Regions from separate parts of the Homo sapiens genome. Here region 2 is linked to region 1. Evidence: promoter capture Hi-C in human tissues and cell types (Jung and others, 2019). All regions are on one chromosome and are shown on one strand. The core of a region is centred on a gene start or on the middle of the fragment in contact, and the rest is flanking DNA. Distances in the headings are between cores, read along the strand shown.

The links. The method cuts DNA at HindIII sites, captures the fragments that hold promoters and counts their contacts. A contact is called where the count stands out against the background at its distance.
Region 2: a contact is called between a fragment that was not itself captured here and the fragment with the promoter of AK4 in region 1, in 1 of the 25 tissues and cell types used here (H1 embryonic stem cells).

The regions. Positions count from the first base shown.
Region 1 is chr1:65,146,456-65,150,284 of GRCh38, forward strand. It overlaps AK4 (adenylate kinase 4), which reads left to right and starts at 1,748. Exons shown (of 5, transcript NM_013410.4): 1 at 1,748-2,097. The coding sequence starts at 1,953. RefSeq lists silencers at 915-1,154, 1,165-1,664, 2,045-2,344, 2,405-2,684 and enhancers at 2,278-2,996, 2,997-3,715. The HindIII fragment of the contact is 12,604 bases long and covers 1-3,829 here.
Region 2 is chr1:64,705,150-64,708,978 of GRCh38, forward strand. No RefSeq gene overlaps it. Among named protein-coding and RNA genes, the nearest start is that of RAVER2, 38 kb to the right of the region's middle. The HindIII fragment of the contact is 5,055 bases long and covers 1-3,829 here.

The DNA.
Region 1 (3,829 bases), core at 498-2,997:
AGTGGGGAGAGGCGCTGGGTGTCAGGAAACTATGCCAGGCCCTGCCCTCCACCAACCCCAATCAAAGAGCTGAGAGGGGGTTCTTCTCCACACCATCCCACTACTTGTGTCCCTCACCTTCTCTGAGTCCTGGGTATTGGTGCTGGGAACTCTGCAACAGATTTCCTGAAGGCAGGTGGCCTGTGGAAGGAAGGCAGAGGAGGGGGCCTGCAGAATGCAAAGGTGTACGGAAGGCATCTCTGCGCCCCTGCTGAAGATTTTTCACTTTATCCTGAAGGGAAGACAATATCTGAGGCCGGGAAATAATAAATATTGATTTTCACTTTATCAGTATTCCTGGCAGCTGCACGGAAAATGGAATGGCACAGAAACTGGAGTCTTATGGGCACTTATCCCACTAGTTGGGGTGGGAAATTAAAGGCTGTGTGTAAGGTGGGCACAGATCTAACAGAATGTGGATTGGGATATGCAGGGGAGGGTGGAGTGGGGGAAGACAGACTCCATTTGGACTTGGTGAGTTATAGGTGCAGCACCAGCATAATGCGCATGGAAGTCCTGGAATCATTTACCAAGAAGGTCCTGAACACAGGTGAGGGACATCCCCTTCTTCCCTGTTCCCTAAGGCGCCTAGACTTTGGAGTCAGTCAGTCTTGGGTTCCAGCCTCCCGCTAGGACGCAATTTCTTGAGAGCAGGATTCGATCTGTTGTTCACGGCTAGATCCTAAGCGCCTAGAATAGTTTCTGGCACACAGTAGGCACTCAATAAACATTTGCAGAATGAATCAATGAATGAATGGTCACGCTCCATTCCTCGGCTGTAAACACAATGAAATCACCTAGCCGCAAACTTGGCGCACAGTAGGCGCTCAACAAGTTGTATTTTTCCCTTCCCTTGCAGTAGACCGCGGTCCCCAGGCGACCGCGAAAGAAAAAAAGGGGTTTCTCTACCTCGCGTGGTCTGCACCTCGCTTCGCCCCCGCAGCCCTCGCTGGGTCGCAGGGAGCACGTGGGCCAGGCAGGCTGGGTGGGAGTGGAGTGGAGTGGAGGGGAGGGGGCGGCGGCCAGCGGCTCGCGCGGAGCCGGTCTCCCGGGCTTACGTAAGGCGCGAGTCCCGCGCGGCCGGCCGGGGCTCCGCGACTGGGCGGGCGGAGGCGGCGCCGCCCTGCAGGATCCGGGCTGGAAGCCTCTCGGAGTGCTGCCTCCAGCCAAGGTGTGTGTTTATTTGATTGCTTTTGGTGGCGAGGCGCGGGGCTCGGGCTCGTCGCGCGCCCCATGGCCGGGGAGCGCATCCGCCAACCCCGGGCGGAGGTGGGCCCCTCCGAGCGCGCGCGGGCGGCGGGCAGCGGCGGCAGCTGAGACTCCGGGGGATGTGACAGCCGCCGGGGAGGGGACGAGACGCAGACCACACGTTGCCCACGTGCGAGGACCGGGCAGGGGCTCAGCCCCTAGGCCGCCCGGTGCGTGGGGCGGCGGGGGCTGGCTTTGAGTCACCCCCGCTTGTGCCAGCTTCCCCGGCTCGGCGGAGACTGGCTTGGGGATGCCTGGCCGCCCGGCCCCCTTCTCGGACGCGGCGTGGGGAGCGAGCTGGAGTTAAGGATGAAGGTGGGACTGGCCGGGCCGACCTCTGACCCCTGGAGGCCGAGTCGGCAGGGCGGGGCACGGCGCGCTTCAGCAGCTTTGCGTGGGGGCGAGGAGGTGGAGGAGGGCGAGGAGGTGGAGAAGGGCGGGGAGGTGTAGCGTGGCGCTCAGTCCGCCTGCTACTCGGTCCCGGCGCTGGGCTGAGGGGAGGGGTTGTCTTAAAAGTCTCTCCTTCCCCCTGTAGGGGCGGCCGGCGAGTCCCAGTGAGAGCGGAGGGTGCCAGAGGTAGGGGGCCGAGAAACAAAGTTCCCGGGGCTTCCTCCGGGGCCGCGGTCGGGGCTGCGCGTTTGACCGCCCCCCTCCTCGCGAAGGCAATGGCTTCCAAACTCCTGCGCGCGGTCATCCTCGGGCCGCCCGGCTCGGGCAAGGGCACCGTGTGCCAGAGGATCGCCCAGAACTTTGGTCTCCAGCATCTCTCCAGCGGCCACTTCTTGCGGGAGAACATCAAGGCCAGCACCGGTGAGGGGCTGCGGGGACGAGGGCCGGGGGCGAGCCGCGTTGGGCTGGGGTGAGGCCCTGGAGGGACTGGGGCTCCCGGATCACGGCGCCCTTCCCCCGCCCGCGTGTGGTCGTGCAGGCTCGTACGTGCCGGGGCGCATGCAGCTGGCGGCCGCGCGGCTTAACCGCGCCTGGGGAGGAGGCCGAGGCTCCAGGGGCGGCCGGTGGGAGGTGCCCACGGCTCCTCTCCACCGCTCCTCCTGTCGCGAGGAATAGCCCGAGCCACCCGGCCGAGGGAACGAGAACTAGGCAGGGAAAACCCGGAGCTTCCGTCTCACGCTGCCCTCCTTAAGGCAGAGCCGTCCCCGTACCCCTTAGCCCTGGCCCCCTCCCCCGAGTCCCTAGAGAGCCGCGCGCCCCCTCCCGCGGGAGCCCAGAGGCGGAGCGCCGCCCACCTGTGGCAGTCGGGCGGGGCCGCGCGCCGGGGAACCTGTGGCGCCGGGGGGCTCGCAGCCTCGCGCCTCTCCAGCCCCTCCACGCAGCCTCGGGCCTCGGGGCAGAGCCCTGGGTGGCTTTGAAAGGCCTGTCTGTTCGTTGTCGCCTTCTAAGGTAAACTCTCCCCAGCAACTCCCCCCCCTCCCGAAGCCGCCGGGCCTGGCCGTCAGGAGACTCGGAGGAGACTCGTTCTGATAAATTACATTTTGTAATGCAGCTTTCCTGGAAATGGCTTCTTGAGCTGCCTCCCTTGGCATGAGATGCCTCCTTTGGCTGGCGTGGTGAACTTGGGGATATATAGATCGCCTGATTTCTTAGTCTGACGGGGTTGAGTGCGTCCCTTTCCCCCTCTCCTCCCACTCCACGTTCACACCAGTTCCGAAAGAATTGGCGTTAAAAGGCGAGAGGTAGCGGTTGTGCTGCTGCGAGGCTCTTAACCCTTCTGGGATGGAGATGCTGGTAATTAGCAACTCCTTTATGAAAAGTTGTTCTTCCCAGCAGGGGTCCTTTACTGTCGATGTACTTCTCAAGGATGTCCGGGCTGGTTATTGCCCATCATGGACTAATTATCCGGAGATCTGCATTTCAGAAGCACAGACTGGCTTGAAAAGGAAGGTGGAGGACAGTACCAGAAAACAAAAGGAAAGCTTAAAAGCAAGGAATTAAGAAGTATCTCCAGAATTGTATTCCTTATCTCTTAAGCAGATTGAAAAAGCGGACTTTTACAGGAAACTCTTCCCCCACCCCCATGTCTCAAAAGGAAGAATTATGTGTACCAGATTGCACTTGAGTTTTCTGTTGTGGGTATTGTTACCTCAAGTGCGCCTATTTTGATTTTAATACATTCACATGCATTTTATTCTTGAAATGCTGCGGTTTGAGGGGAGAGCGGCCTGAGGGGGAAGGCTGGCTCTCATCCTAATGGTTTTGTGTTTAGGTTGGGCTTCTTCATGGTAGGGGCATGGAGTCAGTGAAGGAAGACAGTGAGAAGAGATGAGCCCATTCCATAATTCTCTGTACCTGACTAGGAGACTTGTTTCCTTCTATGAGCCCATTCCATAATTCTCTGTACCTTACTTGGTGACTTGTTTCCTTCTGGAATGAAGGGCTTCACACTGTCCATCCTGGGACTGGACTCATAGCCCTTTCCATGTTTAAAGAGAGTGTGATGGGAAGTAGCTTATTTCTGCACTTTCTTAGGGGCTTTGAAAATTTTCCATTTGCTCTTTTCCCTTGTTCTCTCTTTCTCTCTCTCTCT
Region 2 (3,829 bases), core at 791-3,290, 440 kb before region 1:
AGCCTAGGCACAACAGAGTGAGACTCCATAAAAAAAAAAAAAAAAAAAAAAAAAAGGATGAACATGATATACATAACATCACGGCTGAATCTCATAGATGTTATACTAAGCAAAAGAACACAAAAGAGCACATTTGGGATAGATCCTTTGATATGAAGTTCTAGAACAGGTAAAATTAATCTATAATGGAAAAAAATCTAAGCTGCGGTTTCTTCTGAGGGTCTGGGGCTGACTGGTGAGGGGCTCTGAGGTCATAAAAAGATGTATCATCTGAGTGAATCCATTTGTTAAAATTGTATAGTTGTGATTGGTGCATTTTGATGGATGTACATTTAACTTCAAAAAATAAAATTAACAAAATTGAGTGTCTAGTGTTGTGTCTATCTTGATACAATGTTTTAAAAATCCATTTTACCGAAAATTAGACTATCAGTTCTTCACCAAACATGGTCATCCTGGAATTCCCATCTCTGCCATCCTATTGTTGATTACCAGTTACCCAAGACTCCACATAAGGATGACCAGGCAGCTATAGCCACACACAGGAACATGGTTTGAGGGAAGGAATATGTTAAATTTGTTAAACGTGAGCAGTTGGCAGGGGTTTTATTTTTGAAGAATGAGTTGTGAGTACTGAATGGCCAGCCACACCAAGGGGACACAGGAGAGGAATTGTGAGTCACTTACTGTGCTAACTGATCAGCATATGTCAGGAATCAGTTTACAGAGATGGGGAGCAGAATAGATTAATAGGAAAGGGATACCATTCAGCCTTTTAATTATGGAAAAGTTGGAAAGGGCAAAGAAACAAAGCAAATGGGCATGTACATGTAAGAGAAAAAGAGGCAGCCTTACAGCTGTAGTTCTTTATTGGCCTCCAAAGGGCAATGGCCTTTTCATTGCATCCTCTTTTCATATCTTGTAGAAACTGGGATGCAAATGTGGAATTTCAGCAGACAGTGTCTATGCTAGTGGTGAGGAGAGGGACAGGGTAGATAGATACTTTTCCTCCTAGGCTGATGACTAGAATTCCTGACAAAGTATAACAACTTCCAACCAAGTTCATCATAACGTTTAAAATATAAAATACTTGAAGGGTGTTATGAGGATTAAATGGATCCATAAATTAACAACATTACCTGGCATTAAAAAGCAATCAATAAATATTACTTAGACCAACAGTCACAGCAGTAATAATATGAAGAAAAATTAAATTCAGACTATTTTTGCTTTTTGCAAACACTTCTTAGTTAACTTCAGTTTTTAAGGACTCTAGCCTTTCTCAGCTGGAAGAAAAGCAAAGAGAGAAAATAGAATACTTTCACAACTTGATCCAGATTGATAGGGTAGTTAGAAATTGCTAGTTTCCTTTTTGGGGTTAGGGATGGATGGCATGGACAGCCTGGATACTCAAGCAGTCCCTGCCTTCGGGGAGGCTGGGGCAGACAGTGAAATAGCATCCAGATAAGAAGGGTATGAGGGAGGCCACTGGGGCCAGAGTACCTTTGAACTAGAGCCATCCACGTAAGCTACACTGTGGGCTATTTTCTCCATTTCTCACTGTCCCATAAGCCTCATTCATTAATGGATTAAATAGCTGATCCTCAATGTTGGAGGACAATGTTTGAATCTATGTGGGTACTTTTTTTTGTTTTGTTTCTTGTTTTTCTTTTGTTTTTCTTTTTTTTTTTTTGAGACAAAGTTGTGCTCTGTTGCCCAGGCTGGAGTGCAGTGGCGCAATCTTGGCTCACTGGAACCTTCGCCTCCTGGATTCAAGCAATTCTCCTGCCTCAGCCTCCCAGGTAGCTGGGATTACAGGTTCACGCCATGATGCCCAGCTAATTTTTTGTATTTTTAGTAGAGATGGGATTTTGCCATGCTCACCAGGCTGGTCTCAAATTCTTGGCCTCAAGTGATCCACTCACCTCGGCCTCCCAAAGTGCTGGGATTACAGGTGTGAGTCACCGCACCCGGCCTGTGTAGGTACTTTTTAAAATGTTTTTATTACCATAAAATATATACAACATAAAATTTCCTACTTTAACCATTTTTAAGTGTGCAATTCAGTGGCATTAAGTGCATCCAAAATGTTGTGCGACCACCATCACTATTTCCAAAACTTTTTCATCATCCCAATATGTGGGTTCTTTTTAATTCCTCTGATTTGTGAAATGATAATTTCATGACTGAATGTTAGAGCTAGAAGGAACTTGAAGATTATCTCCCCACCGCATTCGTACAAATAAGGAAATTGACATACTTGAAGGTTTTACTCAAGGCCACAAAGCTAGATGATGGCAAGGGCTGGAACTCAAATACAGGCTTCTTGATTCTTAAGCACAAGAGAGTAGTTTGAATAAGTGAATTAATGTCTAACAACCTGCAGAGGTTAATAAACAAAGGCAGCTAATTTTAGCTTATTATTGCCATCGATGGTGTCAATTTTTTAAAGAAAAAGGAAAGATTTTCATCTGAATATCAATAATATTAAACATCGTGTGGGGGAGAGAACATGTTTGGAAGGTGTAGTCGTTAATTTTGTGTGTCAACTGGGCCACAGGATACCCAGATATTTAGTCAACCATGATTCTGGGTATTTCTGTCAGGGTGCTTTGGATGAGATTAACATTGAAACGGGGAGGCTGAGTAAAGCAGACAGCCTTCCATAAAGTGAGTGGGCCTCAGCCAATCCGTTAAAAGACTGACTAGAACAAAAAGCCTGGTCCTCTTCTGAGTAGCAGAAAATTCTTCCTGCCTGACAGCCTTCGAACTGTGATACTGAGATTTTTCCTGCCTTTAGACTCAAACTGAAGCATAGGCTCTTTCTGGGTCTTGAGCTTTCTGGCCTCTGGACTGGAGCTATACCATCGGCTTAGTTCTCAGGTCTTTGAACTTGGACTGAAACGAAACCATTGGCTCTTCTGGGTCTCCAGCTTGTCAAATCACCCTGCAGATTTGGGGACTTGTCAGCCTCCATTATCATGTGAGCCAATTCCTTATAATAAATAAAGATATTCTATTGGTTCTGTTTCTCTGGACAATCCTGACTAATACAGGATTGAGTCAATATTGAGGCCCCTGGACACCCAGCAATCTAGGTGTGCTGTGTGGGAATCATTGAAGAGTGTGAATCCAGCAACTATCAAAGTGCCTGGAGTGAAATAGACAATAGACAGAATAGACAATCGGTGTTTATTTGGATACCTAAATGACTATATCATGAATAAGATTCATCATTTTCTCCACAGATTAGAACTTCAGAGGTATTCAAGAAAAGCCTACAGAAAAAATGTTTGTCTTCAGTGGGAAGTTAAGTAATTGACCAATCAAGTTAGTTATTCATTCATTCATTTGTTGACCCACTGATGTATTAATCATATATTGTACTATGTACCAAGCACAGTGCTAGATATTGAATATGTAAAGCACAAGGATACACAGTCCTCGCCCTCCAGGAACCGGCAAGCTCACATAAAGAATTATAACACAGTGTCATATATGTTACCAGAAAGATGGTACCCCATGCAGGTGTGATGAAAATGTACAAATAGGGGTATATTTGAGGGGCTCAGGGAAAAGGTGGGAGGGGCAGAAAAAATGAGTAATGGTCTACCAGTGACAGGTTGCAAACAGAAAATGAAAAAGAGGAAATGGTTGGGTAGATGGTGATTATAGCTCTAAAATTCTACATTCCTCTTGTCTATGTTAGGAATGCTGCTTACAAATGGTGGTAAGAACAGTTGTTCAAGTAAGCTTTTACTATAATGCCCTGAAACTACAGATACCCCTAATATCTTATGTTTTTGTACCCCTTTTATTGACTAAAAGT